6 separate regions of the Homo sapiens genome follow, and regions 1, 2, 4, 5 and 6 are each linked to region 3. Evidence: promoter capture Hi-C in human tissues and cell types (Jung and others, 2019). All regions are on one chromosome and are shown on one strand. The core of a region is centred on a gene start or on the middle of the fragment in contact, and the rest is flanking DNA. Distances in the headings are between cores, read along the strand shown.

The links. The method cuts DNA at HindIII sites, captures the fragments that hold promoters and counts their contacts. A contact is called where the count stands out against the background at its distance.
Region 1: a contact is called between a fragment that was not itself captured here and the fragment with the promoter of ZNF704 in region 3, in 1 of the 25 tissues and cell types used here (neural progenitor cells).
Region 2: a contact is called between a fragment that was not itself captured here and the fragment with the promoter of ZNF704 in region 3, in 3 of the 25 tissues and cell types used here (dorsolateral prefrontal cortex, heart right ventricle and hippocampus).
Region 4: a fragment that was not itself captured here is called in contact with the fragment with the promoter of ZNF704 in region 3 in 2 of the 25 tissues and cell types used here (dorsolateral prefrontal cortex and hippocampus).
Region 5: a fragment that was not itself captured here is called in contact with the fragment with the promoter of ZNF704 in region 3 in 1 of the 25 tissues and cell types used here (spleen).
Region 6: a fragment that was not itself captured here is called in contact with the fragment with the promoter of ZNF704 in region 3 in 2 of the 25 tissues and cell types used here (dorsolateral prefrontal cortex and thymus).

The regions. Positions count from the first base shown.
Region 1 is chr8:80,739,568-80,742,267 of GRCh38, reverse strand. All of the region lies in intron 2 of ZNF704 (zinc finger protein 704), which reads left to right. Among named protein-coding and RNA genes, the nearest start is that of ZNF704, 130 kb to the left of the region's middle. The HindIII fragment of the contact is 4,616 bases long and covers 1-2,700 here.
Region 2 is chr8:80,655,455-80,658,154 of GRCh38, reverse strand. The region is part of intron 7 of ZNF704 (zinc finger protein 704); the gene reads left to right. Among named protein-coding and RNA genes, the nearest start is that of LINC02986, 120 kb to the right of the region's middle. The HindIII fragment of the contact is 3,193 bases long and covers 1-2,700 here.
Region 3 is chr8:80,873,525-80,876,224 of GRCh38, reverse strand. ZNF704 (zinc finger protein 704) reads left to right here and starts at 1,444. Exons shown (of 9, transcript NM_001033723.3): 1 at 1,444-1,654. RefSeq lists a silencer at 2,565-2,700. The HindIII fragment of the contact is 4,011 bases long and covers 1-2,700 here.
Region 4 is chr8:80,722,876-80,725,575 of GRCh38, reverse strand. The region is part of intron 2 of ZNF704 (zinc finger protein 704); the gene reads left to right. Among named protein-coding and RNA genes, the nearest start is that of ZNF704, 150 kb to the left of the region's middle. The HindIII fragment of the contact is 8,276 bases long and covers 1-2,700 here.
Region 5 is chr8:81,121,833-81,124,532 of GRCh38, reverse strand. No RefSeq gene overlaps it. Among named protein-coding and RNA genes, the nearest start is that of PAG1, 11 kb to the right of the region's middle. The HindIII fragment of the contact is 6,141 bases long and covers 1-2,700 here.
Region 6 is chr8:80,633,819-80,636,518 of GRCh38, reverse strand. ZNF704 (zinc finger protein 704) reads left to right here. Exons shown (of 9, transcript NM_001033723.3): 9 at 1-2,700. Among named protein-coding and RNA genes, the nearest start is that of LINC02986, 96 kb to the right of the region's middle. The HindIII fragment of the contact is 4,995 bases long and covers 1-2,700 here.

The sequences.
Region 1 (2,700 bases), core at 13-2,512, 130 kb after region 3:
TGGAGGGGGTTACCCCATAAGAGGGGTCCTTCTATAAGCATTTCTAATGGAGGGTCCCGCCTTGCAGCTCTTTTGGCTTCAATATCCGCTTGGCGGTTCCCTTCTATTTCCCTTTCCTTTCCTTTCTGATGACCCCGGCAGTGTAAGACTGCCACCTCTTTAGGTTTCTGTAGAGCCAATAATAATCTCCTAATGGCTTCCTGATGTTTGATAGGTGTTCTCGGAAGTTAGAAATTCCCTTTCTCTCCATATTGCTGTGTGGGCATGGAGGACTAGGTAAGCATACTTAGAGTCTGTATATATATTTACCATTTTTCCTTTTCCTAATTCTGATGCCCGAGTGAGGGCTATTAGTTTTGCCAGCTGAATGCTAGTTCTTGGAGTGAGGGGATTACTTTCAAGTATTCTATTATCACTGACCACTGCATACTCCACTTTTTGAAGTCCTTTTTTCACAAAGGAACTTCCATCAGTATACAAGTTGAGGTTGGGATCAGTCAAGGGAACCTCTAGAAGGTCCCCTCGAGCGGCGTAGGTTTGAGCAATCACCTGTTGACAGTTATGTTCTATCTTTTCTTCATTGTCTGGAAGAAACGTGGCTGGGTTAAGAGTTGCACAAGTGCGCAGTCGCAGCACTGGCCCTTCAAATAAGAGCCTGATATTTAAGCTAATGGTTGTCTGACAGCCACAAGTCTCCTTTAGCAGTGAGTATGCTGTTCACATCATGAGATGTCCACACACATAAGATCTCTTCCTTGTATTATTTTAACTGCTTCGGAGGCTAAGACTGCTACTGCTGCCACTACCTGTAAACAATGAGGCCAACCCTTTGCCACTACATCAATTTTCTTACTCAAGTATGCCACAGGTTGCAAGCTGGTCCCTCAGACCTGTGTAAGGACTCCTAGAGCTATTCCTATTTTTTTTCTGTGACATATAAAGAAAAGTCTTGCCCCGTTGGCAAGCTTAACACTGGGGCTTGGGTTAGGGCCTTCCTTAGGGCCTGGAAAGCCGCTTCTGCTTCAGGTGTCCATCTTACTAAATGGGTATTGGCTTTCTGAGTTTCCTTAATTAGTGTATTTAATGGCCTGACTATTTTGCCATACCTGGGAATCCATATTCGGCAGAAGCCTGTTATGCCAAGGAGCCCTCTTAGTTGCTTTAGGGTTTTGGGATGAGGATAAGCCAGTATATGCTGGATACATTCCTCACTGAGGGCCCTAGTGCCTTTGGATAATTTTAGCCTTAAGTATTTAACCTGCTGTAAGCAGAGCTGAGCCTTTGGTTTGGAAACCTTGTAGCCACAAGTGGCAAGGAAGTTTAAAAGCGCTTGGGTGGCTTGATGGAGCAAGGTTTCTGAATGGGCGGCTAGAAGTAAATCATCCACGTACCAAAGGACAAGAGTGTCCAAGTATGAGAACTGGCTAAAGTCTTGGGCTAATGCCTGGCCAAATAGATGGGGGCTATCCCTGAACCCTTGGGATAAGACAGTCCAGGTGAGTTGAGACGTTGGGTTTGAAGGATCTTCAAAGGCAAAGAAGAATTGAGAGTTGGGATGTACAGGGATGCAGAAAAAGGCATCCTTAAGGTCCATGACTGTAAACCACTCTGGTTCCTCTGGTATTTGGGAAAGCAGAGTACAAGGGTTAGGTACAGCTGGGTATAGAGGGATAAGAGCCTCATTGATAATCCTGAGATCTTGCACTGACCTCCACTGTCTGTTGGGTTTCTGTACTCCTAAAATTGGAGTATTGCAGGAGCTATTGCATGGTTTTACTAGGCCTTGGGCTTTTAGGTCCTTAACAATTTTTTGGAGTCCTTGTTGGGCCTTGGGTCTAAGAGGGTACTGCCTTTGGTAGGGAAAGGAGGCAGAATCCTTTAGTTTAATTTGAACAGGACAGGCATTCTTTGTTCGTCCATATTGTCCTTCTGTTGCCCAGACTTCAGGATGGATTAATTCCTTCCTCAAGCAGGGGACAACAAATGGATGTTCTTTCTCCTATGTTCAGGTGTATAATGGCCCCTGCTTTTGCTAGAATGTCTCTCCCTAACAAGGGAGTGGGGCTTTCAGGCATAATTAGAAAAGTATATGAAAAGAATAAAGTTCCCCAGTCACAGCTTAGTGGCTGGGAGAAGTATCTAGTGACTGCCTGTCCTAGGACCCTTTGGATAGTGACAGATCTGGAGGACAGTTGTCTGGGACAGGAGAGTAAAACTGAGAAGGTCGTGCCAGCATCCAGGAGACAGTTAACCTCCTGACCCTCAATGGTCAAGCATACCCGGGGTTCTGTGAGGGTGATGGCATGGGCTGGCACTTGGCCCGGGCACCCTCAGTCCTGCTGCTGGATCATCTGGTTAGTGGCTTCTGACTCGGAGGACTTTCATCCCCTGGGGCAGTGGGCCTTCCAGTGATTCCCTTGACATAAGGGACATGGACGAGGGGGCGGCTTATTTCTATTTGGACAATCTTTTTTAAAGTGTCCTTGTAGACCGCACTGGAAGCAAGCCCTATTAGCATTCAGTTTGCCCAGCTCTTCCCTTTTCCAGAGCCTAATAGGAGTCATTTTAACAGAAGTCATTTTCTTTTTCCCTGGAGTCTATAAGTAGGGATGTGGAGCTGGGAATCTCCTAACTATAGACATAGGTAAGGAGAAAGAAACTAGCGATGTCTTCCAAGCATACTTTCTTGCTAGAAGACTG
Region 2 (2,700 bases), core at 173-2,672, 220 kb after region 3:
TTTCAGACTACCTCTGTGGCCAAGCAAACTGGAATGTTTTTCCCCTTTGCTTTTCTAACTAAATTATCTTCTGAAGTATAGGGAAATCACTCTGAGGGGCTCTTTACTAGCTCCATGTCCTCCATGGTTCTTATGTGTCTTACACACTAGGATACCAGCCAGGATACCTTATATCACTCGTTTTTCAACAATAGAATGTTAAAACTCTGCTATGGACACTGTGTATTTCTACCCTCATCTCAGTGCCCTTGATTTTTTACAGAATCCCTCATTTCACTCTGTGTTGATTACCTGGGACATTCTAGACAAAAGCTTTGACAGAAAGTATATATATGATATATAAAACATACCATATATACGATATATAAAACATTCCGTATATATGATATATAAAACATACCATAGCTGGGTTAAGTAGGTATTCCACTAAAATCCTATGTGAGCTTTTTTTTTTTTTTTTTCTTGAAACAGGGTCTCAGTCCATGACCCAGGCTTAGAGTGCAGTGGTGCCATCACGGCTCACTGCAGCCTCAACCTCCCTGGGCTCATCTTCCCCACTTCAGCCTCCTGAGTAGCTGGGACTACAGAAGCACACCATCACACCTGGCTAATTTTTGTATTTTTAGTAGATACGGGGGTTTCCCATGTTGCCCAGGCTGGTCTTGAACTCCTGAGCTCAAGCAATCTGCCCACCTCAGCCTCCCAAAGTGCTGGGATTACAGGCTTGAGCCACTGCGCCCAGCTGAGAGCTTCTAATTTATTCTTTCACCAGAGAATTCCCAATTGTGCTGATTGTGTAACCTGTTTCAGCAAAGACTTTAGACTGATTTTAGCAGTCAAGCTTGCCATTCCTATTTAAAGATAAAGTAAGGGTGGGGTGGAATTTTCAAAGGTTTTTGTTTTACCCTAGAAAGACAAGAAGGCTACAACTAAGAATGTTCTTTTTGTTGCTAAACTCTCTGGCCATGCTCTAAAAAAAACAAGCAGGTGCTGCTGTCCTCCTCCTCCTCCTTCTCCTGGTGGGCTAGCTCTCATAACAGCCCACCCACACAGATGCAGGACTGTTGTACACCCACGGACAGCATGCCAGCAGCTGTCCCTGAATGCTCCAGGAGTGCCAGGCAAGCCACGTAGAATTTAAAAACGTGAATTCTTACCCTCTAAATTGGTGTAATAGGGTTTTCAGACCAAAGCTCTAAAAGTTGTAAGTTATAATGAATTTGTATTAGTGATGGCTTCAATTGTGTCCAAACTGAAGAACAGAGAAATATTCATGTGATAAAATGCTTTTCAAAAAAAAAATACCTTTATCCTTGTACTCTAAAATAAATACCCTGAGGTTGTCAACCCTGTTTAGAGTTCACTTTTCTCCCACATCTTTGAGACGTGGTATTGAAGAGGGATACTTTTGTACACTTCCTAGAAAGTGAGAAAAACCCCTTTCTGAAAAATCCCAAGGGTTGCAGGATTTTATTTATTCATTTGCCTATGCTAGATTTCCTGAACATTGGACTTTAATAAGTTCCCTGGGTAAGACCTCTTCCCGGAGGTGTGTAGCTGAGAAGGCTGAACTGCATATTTAACAAATGTAACTGGAAGTTCAGTCTTTTGTAGCCTAAGGCTGTGGGGAGAGGGGTAGGAAAGAGAACATCCTTAATTACAACTTTCTTTGACATGTTTTTCCCTAATGACCTGCCTTCTCTCCTAATTATCTCCATTTCTTTCTCTCTCTTTTCATGACAGAAAACTAAGAGCCGTTGGCCCCTTTATTAATCAGCTCAAGACTGCCATAAAATACCACAGACTTGGCAGCTTAAACAACAGAAATTTATTTTCTCACAGTTCTAGAGGCTAGAAGTCCAAATCAACGTGTCGGCCAATTCAGTTCTGGTGAAGACCCCTTCCTGCTTGTAGATGGCTGCCTTCTCACTGTGCATGCACAGTCGAGAGAGAAAGAGAGAGAGAGAGAAATCGAGAGAGAGAGCACAAGCACATGCCAGGGCACTGGCAAGCCAGGGAGAGCAAGCATGGAGGAATGCACCAGCCTCTGCTATCCCTTCTTAAAGGACACTAATCCTGTTGGGTCAGGGCCCCACCCTTATGACCTCCTTAAAGGCCCTATGTCCAAATACAACCACACTGGGGATTAGAGCTTTATCATATGAATTTGAGGGACACAAACATTCGATCTATAACAGCCCCTAGGAAAGCAAGTATAAGCTAGTCAACCTGCTATCCAAGTTCTAGGAGGCTTCAGGCTGTTGGGGAGGGTCTCCAAAGCTGAAATAGCAGTGCTTATTTGTCAAATGCTTAGCTGGTTTGAGGTTTCTTTTTTAATGCCTTGAGGGAAGATTCAGAATTATATGAGGTTAAAACCAAGCCAGAGGCCTTTTTTTCCTCCCTCTTAAGAGAAAAACTTACAAGAAAAGAAATTTCTCCTGCATACTTACAGAAGGGCACAGCATCTTTAGTGTGAGGCTTACTTGCAAATCCTGGCTCTGGCATTTGTGAACGCCATGTGATCCTTCTAAAGTAATATCCTCTACTCTAGTTCTACCTCTTAGAGTTGTGTCGTTCACACAGTGCCTGGCATGTAGCTGACAATGCAGATTTCCTACCATCATTGCTGCCTTTACTGTGTCTAAGCACTGTATAATGGGTCAGAGAAAGCGGCTCCTCCCTATTTAGGATTGATTCCTG
Region 3 (2,700 bases), core at 195-2,694:
AGTCCAACAAGAAAATGGTGTGATCTAAATGGGGTTTCGGAAACATAAATCTGGTGGTGGCATCTGAGGAGGGAAAGGGAGGGTGTGTGGGTGAGAAAATGGGTGTGTAGAACTGTTAGAAACTTCCACTTTTGAAGTCACAAAATGCTGTAAGAGCTTTGGGAATGGAAAGGAAGGGGTGGATTCAAAATGCATTTTAGAAAGAACAATGGGTTGGACTTGTGGGCAATTGCCTCTAGGGATAAGGTAGAGAAGGGAGTTAAAATGATACCGCTATTTTGGGCTCAAATGATTATAATGAGAGTTTCATCACCTGAAATAGGTACATCAGGAAGCTAATCTGATTCAGGGAGAACAAAAAGTTCATTTTAGAATCTTTGTCATCATCCCTGTTCAACAGTTGGAAGCCACCATAAGTGAGCATTTAATGAGCCCCATTCAAGTGTCTAACAGAGCATATGATGTTAAATGTCCAACAATAATTAACTGAAGGTGAATACACCTTTTATTCTGGCCCCACGGAGGTGCCTACCAGGGTATTTGATGCGTAAGATCCTCCCCAGCCCTCCTCTACAGGGATGGAATTGGGGGTATGATTTGAATGTAAGAAATACGACTTAAGGCCGGGCACGGTGGCTCACACCTGTAATCCCAGCACTTTGGGAGGCCAAGGCAGGCAAATCATCTGAGGTCAGGAGTTTGAGACCAGCCTGGCCAACATGGTGAAACCCTGTCTCTACGAAAAATACAAAATTAGCATGGCATGGTGGAGCGCGCCTTTAATCCCAGGTACTCAGGAGGCTGAGGCAGGAGAATCGCTTGAACCCAGGTGGCGGAGGTTACAGTGAGCCCAGACCATGACATTGCACTCCAGCCTTGGCAACAAGAGCGAAACTCCATCTGAAAAATAAAGAAATATATATAAATAAAAATTAAAATAAATAAAAGAAGAAATACCACTTACTACATAGCCTAACCCCACGCAATAGCAAATATATTTTCTTTATCACACCTAAAAATCGTCAGAAAATGGCAAAATTAGTCATGTTATGTGCTTGATTTCCAGATTTGGTCTTACTTCATATTAATTTCTTAAGTAACCAACTCAAACGATCTTGAACTCCCACCCATTTGTTTCTTCAAAGTCCTGAACAATGCCAGAAGAGAGTCTACAGATCAGACAGTGCAAACAGAAAGCTTCTTGGAATTCAGCCATTAAAATCAGGCACTCAAGGTAGAATAGCAGGAGTAAAAGCTGAAAGACCTACACACTCAGCACAGAGCCAAGGCAGCTCAATCGCAGGGCCTAGAGTGGTGCGTTCAAAGAGTGTGAGATTGGTAGACAATCGCTCATGAAACAGTGTTTCGAAAATCTAAGCGACTCTGATGATTCATATTAGGAATTCATCCCAAACCTCAGATTGGTACACCTTCCTTGATTTCACACAAGCTCAGGAGTAGCTGCCATGCACATCAGTGTCCATTAAAATGACTTGTAGCAAATCTCTACGTTCAAAGTCTAACTTTGACAGACAACCTTACTTCCAGCGAAGTCTACTCCCCTCCCTCCGGAGGGAAGAATGGGCTGCGGTTAAGCGTTTGCCCTGGTGTCAGGGCCAACTGCTTCGAAGCGCCAGACTTTCGGAGACTGTGGGTAAGAGAAAAAAAAAATCCAGTCCGGGTTTTGTCTGAGCGGGGGGACCGGAGGGTTGTGAGGAATGGCTCGCGAAGAGGGGGGCGGTGGTGGAAAACATACAACACAAACAGCTCGCGCCGAGGCACGGCAGCGGTAGGCCCGGAGCGCGCGGGCGCAGCCGGCCGGGAGAGGCGCGCGCGGGCTCGGCCGCCGGCCGCATGGAGCGCAGCGCGGCCCGCGGCTCCCGGGCGGCGGCGGCGGCGGCGGAGGCGGCAGCGCGCCGCTCGCTCACACCCACCCCCGCCCGCGGCCGCCGCGCCGCCCCGCCGTAGCCGCCGGCCGCCGGCGTCCCCGCCGGCCGGTCCAGCGAAGGCGGCGCCCGCGCCTCTGCAGCCAGTGGCAGCCGCGGGTCCTGGCCGGCGGCTCCTGCAGCCCCTTGCGGCCGCGAGTCCCCGGCCCTGCGGCCACCGGCGGAGGCAGAGGAGGAAGAGGAGGTGACAAACTCTCCGGCCCCGCGCCGCGGCCCGCAACCCCGCGCTCAGGCATGCAGGCGCGGCGTCTAGCCAAGCGCTCCAGCCTGGGCAGCCGCCGGGGGGGCGCCGCGCTGCAGCCTGCCGGGCCGGCGCCCGCGCCCGCCAAGGAAGCCGCCCTACCCGGGCTCCCGCCCCCTGTCCCGGGCCCGGCCCCGGCGCCCGCCCCGGAGAGCTGGAGGCCGCCGCTGCCGCCGCCGCCGCGCAGCGCCGGGACCGGCCCCCCTCGGGCCACCGGGGCCGCCGCCGCCGCCTCGTCGCCGGTGCTGCTGCTTCTAGGGGAGGAAGACGAGGACGAGGAGGGCGGGAGCAGGCGGCGGAGGGGGCTCGGGCGTGTGGAGGAGAAGCCCCGAGGGGGCGCGGAGGAGGAGGATGACGACGAGGAAGAGGAGGACGAGGAGGTGGTCGTCGAGGTGGTGGACGGCGACGAAGACGACGAGGACGGCGAGGAGCGTTTCGTGCCCCTCGGACCCGGCCACGCAGTCCCCAGGGGCCCGGCCCGGGGCGCGTTGAAGGTGCGTGTTGGGCGCGGTG
Region 4 (2,700 bases), core at 17-2,516, 150 kb after region 3:
TCGTCTCCCATAACTTCCTCTTTTCCCCATCCCCTATGTATCTGAGACTCCAAATGCATTAGACAATTTGGCATAATCTTTGTGTTTTCGTGTCCATGTTCTTCTTGTTCTTAATTCCATATACGTGATGTAGGGCTGCTGTATTAAGTAAATAAAAATACAGGAGGCCCACTGAAAATTGAATTTAACATAAACTAAAAATCTATGGTCATTGTTTATGTTCCAATATTGTATGGGATATACTTATACAAAAATTTTGTTTGTTATTTATCTGAGATGAAAATTTAATTGGAAGTCCTGGGTTTTATCTGACAATTTAACCTAAGGAAACCCTTCAAGGACTGGCCTTTTTTCCAGAAAGCCTTCCCCACTATACTCCTTCTGCCCTCCTACCACAGTACTTTGCTGGAACCTCTAATAAAATATTTAAGTGCCCTAACATTTCATAGTGATATGTATGTGTCTCCCTACCACTTTGTAACACAAACACTATGTCTTATTCTTCAAGTCCTAGGATTTAGCATTTGCACTTTGGTGAAGGGGTAGGAGGTGTTGCTCTAAAAGTAGATAGAGAGTAGGTCATAAACACTTTATAAACCACACTTAGAAATCTGCCTTTAAATGATAAACAGTGGAGAGCCACTGGAAATTGTTCAGACCTGGAATGGCATGATTTTATTTAACTTCTGAAGAGACTGCTTGAACGGCATTGTGGGGCGCAGAATGAATGGAGCAGAGACTAGGGCAGGGAAATCAGTTAAGGGGTTATCGTTTTGAGGGGAAGGACTCGGCAGAGAGACAATGAGTGCCTGAATTAGGCAGTGGTGGTGAAAAATCAGAATGGAGAAGGATTTTAGGGATTTGTTGAAGTAAAATCAGTAGAACTTGGGTTCAGTCGGGTATAAGGAGGAAAGAAGGGGAACGAAGCCTGACAACTCCTAAGTTTCTGGCTTCTACAACCATTTAGTGAAGGTTTCATTAATGGCAGGCAGGAGTACAGTTTTAGAAGGTCTGGACTGGAGAGACATTTGGGGGAATCATCCGTGAGTATCGAGAGTTAAAGACATGCCAGGAATAGTGTATACAATTAAAATAGACAGGGGCTTGGGAAATGCCAGTTCGCAGATATATATTTGTCATAAGTGAACTAAAGAAAAGGTATATGGTTGGATGAGCTTAAACCCAGCATGAGCTTTAAAGAAGAAACTTTGAGTTATTAACATGACCTTGCTGTTCTGCATCCAGAATGTTTTTATAGATAGGAAGAGTCATGGGTTTTATTTGATTTATTATTGACACCATCTTTGACTCCCTAAAGGAGTATCACTTAACCTCTGTCAAACTACCTCCTACATATTTCATCAGAATTTGTTAAAGACTAATTGAATATAATGGAGAAAGTACTTTGAATTGCATAGAAGAAAAAATATCACAAAAGTCCCAGCATCACCAGATAATTATTGATGATGACATACTATGAAAAAGTAATCCCATCTAAGAATCTTCAAAACAACACCATTTTTGTATACATTACTTGCGTAAATATAATACAGTTCCACCTAAAAGGCTTGTAATGGTTTTAGAAAGTGTAAAAGCTGATGAGAATCAGTGTGAGCCACCACCAAATAGCATTTCCCTCATTAACAACTAACTAATAGTGCTAAAGGTCATTTGAAATGTTGGAACAGTTGAACATCTATCAGTCGGCTCCCTGGATTAACCAGTGTTTTCCATTCTGTTGCCCAAAATTAACAGCTGACAGGCTGTTCTAGATTGGTGGTCTTCAAACTTTTTGCTCATGAATCCTCTGCAAGGATTTTGAAAACCATGTACCCTCTCGCATTTTAAAGTTGACATCTTAGATTTTTACATTTTAGGTCTAAATAGTTGAAAAGGATGTAATATTGATATTTTAACTAAAAAAATATAGTATTACTTTTAAGGTTATCCAGTGGAATCTAAATACCATAGAGATTTGATTCTCACCATCATCCATTTTTAAAAATACACAAATAAGCTCTTTTTTAACTGGCAGAAATTTTACTTGTTTCTTTTTGTTTTAACTCATTTTCCATTTCACTTTCTCCGCAGAACTTTATCCTATTTATGATTTCAATGTTTTTTTACCAATCACATACTTCTCTAAAACACATTTGTAAATTTCAGTTAAAATACTTTGCATTTCCTTTGACTATATAATCCTGACGGTTTAACGTTTTTTTCTGGTATGAGTTATACTTACAGTTACTAGTAGTGGATATTTGATCAACACAACATGTATTAATTAAAAGTCTGATGAAGAAGTGAATACAAAAAATAAAATTGTCTTAAAACCATGACTTAATGAGATTGAGGAGCTTTTAAAATTCATTTATCTTTTGATAAATATTATATATTACTGGAATGACACTATTCAGCTTTAATTTTATTCCCTTTTTAATGGGAAGAAAACTTTGTAGTTTTGTTATTAGTATCATTCAGTTATTTGAACTGGTTTCACAAGAGCATGTCAAATATGACATAGTACTGTATCTTCAAATATTATTTCTAGGTTATCTTTCAATTTTCTTGAAACCAAAGAATTGGAAACCACATGCAAAAGAATTGTTTTTATTCGATACTTAGGGTCATTCACTGTTTGCTACACCAACACTGATCTTCCTAATTGACACCTTGATTGCCACCCTGGAGGGCTTTCCT
Region 5 (2,700 bases), core at 4-2,503, 250 kb before region 3:
GGAGCACTGCACCAAGCCACGTCTCCCTCTTCAGGAGCAGACCCAGCTCTGTAATGCAAACAGGAGAGAAGGAGCAGTGTAGAAATGAGAAGAAGAGGATGCAGGCTGTACATGCCCTGTTTCTTCTTTCAACCCAGCCTATTGGTTTGAGTCACCCTCTCTGGGTAGGAACGAGTAAGCAGGAGAAGAGGCTCCATGCATTTTATGCTAGTCAATACCCTTTTACGTGGAAGAAAATATCAAGTGTGGAAAAGAAAGGCTTCTTCTCTTTTTGCTTACCATTGAAAAATACATTTTATTTATTTATTTTACTCCTATACATGTTGCTGCCTCTTACAGAAATTTGGATTTTGAGATAGCAGGCAACTTGTACAATCCTTGGCCATCTTCACAAAAGACCTCACACAAACCATGCATGAGTAGAAACACATCTTCCACCAAAAGCATATGGTGATTTCTGTGGGTTGTGAGTTAAAAGAGGGCTTAATGAAAAATTTTTGTTTGGTGTCTAGATTTTAAATCCTTATGCCGTTTACGATGCATATTGCAATCTGAAATCTTGCTTAGTTATGTTGAAAATGGTGGAAGGAAATTAATTTAGTCCATGATCCCATATACAGTTTTAAATTCTCATAGTATATATTCTTCTTGCTGATATCCCTATATTCTTTCTTTTCAGTAATGTATTTTCGAAAGCATTCTTTGAATACTTTTAAGAACATTTACAAGTACAATCAATGATCCAAATCTCATGAGAAAAGTATTATCGAGCCTATTTTACAAATGAGAAAATTAAGGTTAAAATAATAATTTGTCTAAGGTGATACACAGTTATGAAACAGAAAATGATATTTGAACCCAGGTCTTCCCAATTCACATAGGGTGTTCCATCATGGTTACTTATACTGTTGCCCGCCATCCTAGATAAAAATTCCTTGTGGTTGTGAGCGTGGCTTCTATTTATTCATTTCTTTTTCTGTCCACAGCAAAGAACATAATGCTCTGCATTGAGCAGGTATTCAGTAAATGTTTGTTAAGTTTAAGTAAATACACTATCCATTGTGCAATTCTAGATATGGAAAATGCATAGAAATGTTCCAGTTGGAGTCTGGCATTTTGTAAGTTAGGAAATTAAAGCCCAAAGAAAATCTCGAGTTTATGTAGCTAGGAGAGTACCAGAATCTAAGCAGAAGTATAACTCCATCTACGCAGACTTTTGGCCCTTCCTGCTACCATTTCCCCTTCATCTTGGGAATCATGAGAGTGGCAAATGGCTTGGCATGGATCACAGTGGCTCACTAAGAGGAAGAGTCAGCTGCTGCTTTTCCTGGGACAAACGGCCTGAAGGAGCAGAGGTCATTGCTGTGTCACAGAGTTGAAAAAACTGACAGGAAGGAGAACAACAATAATAAAATATTGTATTTATTTACTGGACAAGCAGAAGAAAATAGTGACTTAGTACATGACCTGGAGCCACATGGCCTGGTTAAAATGTATAGAAGTAATCTACTTATTAGCTGTGTGATCTTGGACAGGTTACTTGGCCTGTATGTGCCTCAGTTTCTTTATCTGTAAAATGAGAATGGGTGCATCTCCTCCTGCCTTTGTGAAAATTAAATGAGTTACAGATACAAAGTGCACAGGCAGCACCTGGCATAGGCAAAGTACTATATAGCGGTACTGATTTGAGCATTTCATAGGTTCCAGAGACTATGCCAGTGTTTAAAAACCATTAGGTTTATGATTAGCATACGTATTTCACATATTATTAAATACTAAATAAGATAAGCCATTGCTACATTTTAAAACAAGGACACTTGAGATATAGAAAGGGTGAGCAACTTAACAAAGATACTAGTGCCTGTCAGAGGAGGCATATAAACCTAGGGCACCTTCCCCCAGAGCCCACATGTTGACCACTGTGCAAAGGGCTGAATCTCACTATTAGCTTGCCTCCTTGTGAAAAAAGAAAAATGTGCTTTGGAGTTCTTATTGAAGCAGACACAGAACTCCCTAACCAAAGTCACTGTTTCCTAACCAAGCCTCCTTCAATTCTCCTGTGGCCCCAGAAGGGTGGTCCTAGAGTGGACCATATCATCCCTAATCTAGAAGAGTCCAGATTGGCTAACGAACTGTTCTGGAAATCAAGAAGTTTATAATTACTATAGGTGGATCTCAAAAAAGAACTGTTCTGGACTTCCCTGAAATTAAATGCCCTTGTAATAATCAAAGTCAGGCCAATCTCTGAGAGCTTTTCTTGAAAAGTCAAGTCTGTCTCTCAATCAAGAGCATACATGTACCAGAGCTTGTACGGAACAGATGCACATCAACATCTACCTGGTGTCTTTTGGGAAAAAGGCCCCATCCAGAGGTAGAACAGAAGGGCCATGACTATTTCACTTAACTGCGAAATGGCCACAAAAATCACCTGCTTTGTCTCAGAGACTGCGTCCCAACTGTGTGTAAACTTAAGACTCCAGGAAATAATTATTTCTGTCAGTGTTTGCCATTTAGATAAAGCTTCTTGGGAAATATGTTGAGAATCAGACTATCAACAGATGTTTATTATTGAACTTGTTATGTACTCAGCACTGGGTTAAACAAACTTTGAAGTTTCCTATCACATGTTTGAGGGGAATTTAAAGCTCTTAATGGACATGATTACATGTTGTCAAATAGAATGTTACAGTAATGACTGTT
Region 6 (2,700 bases), core at 199-2,698, 240 kb after region 3:
TAAAATGAGATTAGCACTTTTTTTAGGTACCAGTTGTATCACTGAGTAATGCACACCAATAGAGCAAGAAAGTATAAAATGTATTTAAGACCAACTGGTTTGCTTATTATGACTGACTTTGAAAAAGCCCATATCCAATGATATACATGCTTTAAAAGGTATATCTATCGTAGGACCAGGAACCAAAATGGGAATTTTACTTCTGGTCCTGTTTTGTAAATAGTTCCTTTTTTTGAAGACAATCTCATGTTTTATAACTTTTGTTGTGGGTCTGAGAATCACAATGGTAATATGTCTTGGCAAAACATAACCTTTAAATACAAAAACAATTATAACTTAATTTTCCAAATAAAACAAGAAATACACTGATTAGGCTTCTACAGTTCTAAGAGACATGACACTTTGGTAATAAGCGTCAGTACTCTACTTCTCAAGTTAACTGGAAATATTTTACAAGATGCAGTGTTTTGTAATCACAAAGAACGCAGACATTTTGTGAGAAATGACCTTGGTTTTATACATTGTAGCTTATTTTTTAAAATATAGTATTTTACCAGGCAGGAAGTATTAATATTATAAGTAATTCTTGCTCACCAAACAAAGGGCTATGTCTCTTTTAAGCAAATGTTTTGATGCATATCTTTTTAATTAACCCTCTGCAGCAAGGGTAGAAATACAGATCAGATGGAATGGGTATTATAGGAGAATCAAGATAGCAACAGCTACTCCTTTTACCATTACTAGTGTGTTTTCAAAGTATGGAAAAAGATGCCTGAAGAGTCATTTTATATATTTTAAATCTAAAAAGTGTTAACAGGTATGCTTATAGGCCATGGGAGAAATATTCTTATAAATTTTTTAGTGTAAAATGATAAATTCTGTGTCACAAAGACAAGTTTACCACTTGACCTACCAGAATCACAGATACTTGCATTTAACTAGCAAGTATCATTTGGTGGAAATTTCTAAAATCATAGTAGACAGGCCCAAAGATAGAATTCTTAGGTGATCAGTAGTGTTTAAAATAATTTTGTCCTCAGCACTAACTATATAACTGTAATTTCTACATAAGAACAAGTGCTTCCAAAATATAGTGGAGGGAAAAAATAAAAAAGGAAAATAAAAAAACAAAACAAAAAGAACAAGTGCTTGATTTTTCACTGTGAAGAACTAGCAGGCACATGAGGTTGTGATCAGAAAGTGACTGAGTTCCCAAGAACCAGGAAACAGAGGGGAGTTGTGAAGAGTTTATTAAAACTGTACAAATAATTCAGAGCTTTGCCAAAACCATTTCATAATGCTGTACAGTTTTTTCAAGCCCACTCACTGTTAAAACAAGAAAGCACCTTTTCTTTCTAAGATTTTAGTAATCCAAAAGCTAGCCTAATTAGCCAAGTATGCAGATAACATCAAAAGCAAAGCTGAGATAGAACAGCCATACACCCGTTGGGCAGCTCTTATGAGGTGGTCAGAAGGTCACTCAGACCTTGGTTTCAAATAGGCTTTAGAATCTGCACACTTGAGGACTAGAAATGCACAGAGTTAGGGAAAGCCATGTACAGGCTTGGCTCCTAGTCTTTGAGATGAGGCGTCTTGCAAATCTCTGTTTTCACTCCTTGGAATGTCTCCATTGTTAGCATTAAAGTCCCCAAGAAGTTTTTATTGCTGTACGGTTTTGAACCCAATGAGTCTCATTTCCAAAAGATTCCTAATTCTATATAGGAGAGGTTGCAAATGTCAGTGCCTCAGAAGGACCAGGCAAGTTCTGTAAATGATTGATGTGGATAAGGCAAAGAGGAACACAAGAATGGTGGAGACCAGGTTGAACTGCAGAACACATGCCCTCTTTGAAGGGGTGCCCACACTCAGCTCTAGACAATCAGAACCATGCAGAAATCAGGCCCAGGGCTGCTAGATCTTCTGACGTGGAAGTATGATATTACCTGACACGTAAGTGTTGACAACTAACTCAAACTCTTGGCCAACACTGTGCAGACCAAAGAGAAGCTGTACACAGACAGGTGCAGCCTGCAGCCCCCAGTTTCAACTATTGGGAAAAGTGGATTTCACATTCCACAGTTGTCAGGTCAGGTTCATCCATCAGCCCCACAAACTCACATGTCGGCACTATCTGGGCAACTAAAATAAAAGAGGGGAAAGAGATCATTTCTCCCCAGATATCATTCTCATGGCAGACTTGAATATAGATACGCTGAGTTATCCAGCTCTCTCACTCTGCCTCCTTTTGGCATGCCCAGGCTGTGCCCCGTAAAGTGTTGAATCACTGTTATCCTAATTTTCTTAGTGTTTTCTACCGTGGCCACTGTGATGAGGGGCTGGCAAAGAGCAGCCTCGTGCCTTCCGAGAAGGCTGCCAGGAGCCTCTGAAGCTTGAAGCGAGCACACATTGCCTCCTTGTGCCAAAGCCCTTGGCCAGCCTCCCCACACTCCTTCCCTCTCCATCCGGCCTCATGAGTCTTCGTTACCAAGTAAAATTACCACTGCTTCACCTCTGATACAGCAGAAGCCTTGCTTCAGAACTGGTAGGCATTTAGGCTATTTCAGAGTGTCCACTAACCTCAAAAGGAGGTTTTTCCACATACAAAACCCTAGCATCTTTGAGGGGAAAGCAAAATGAGAATAAATTATGTCATGAAAAAAATTAGAAGTTGCTTCCTTCATTTAGATGGACTAAGTTATT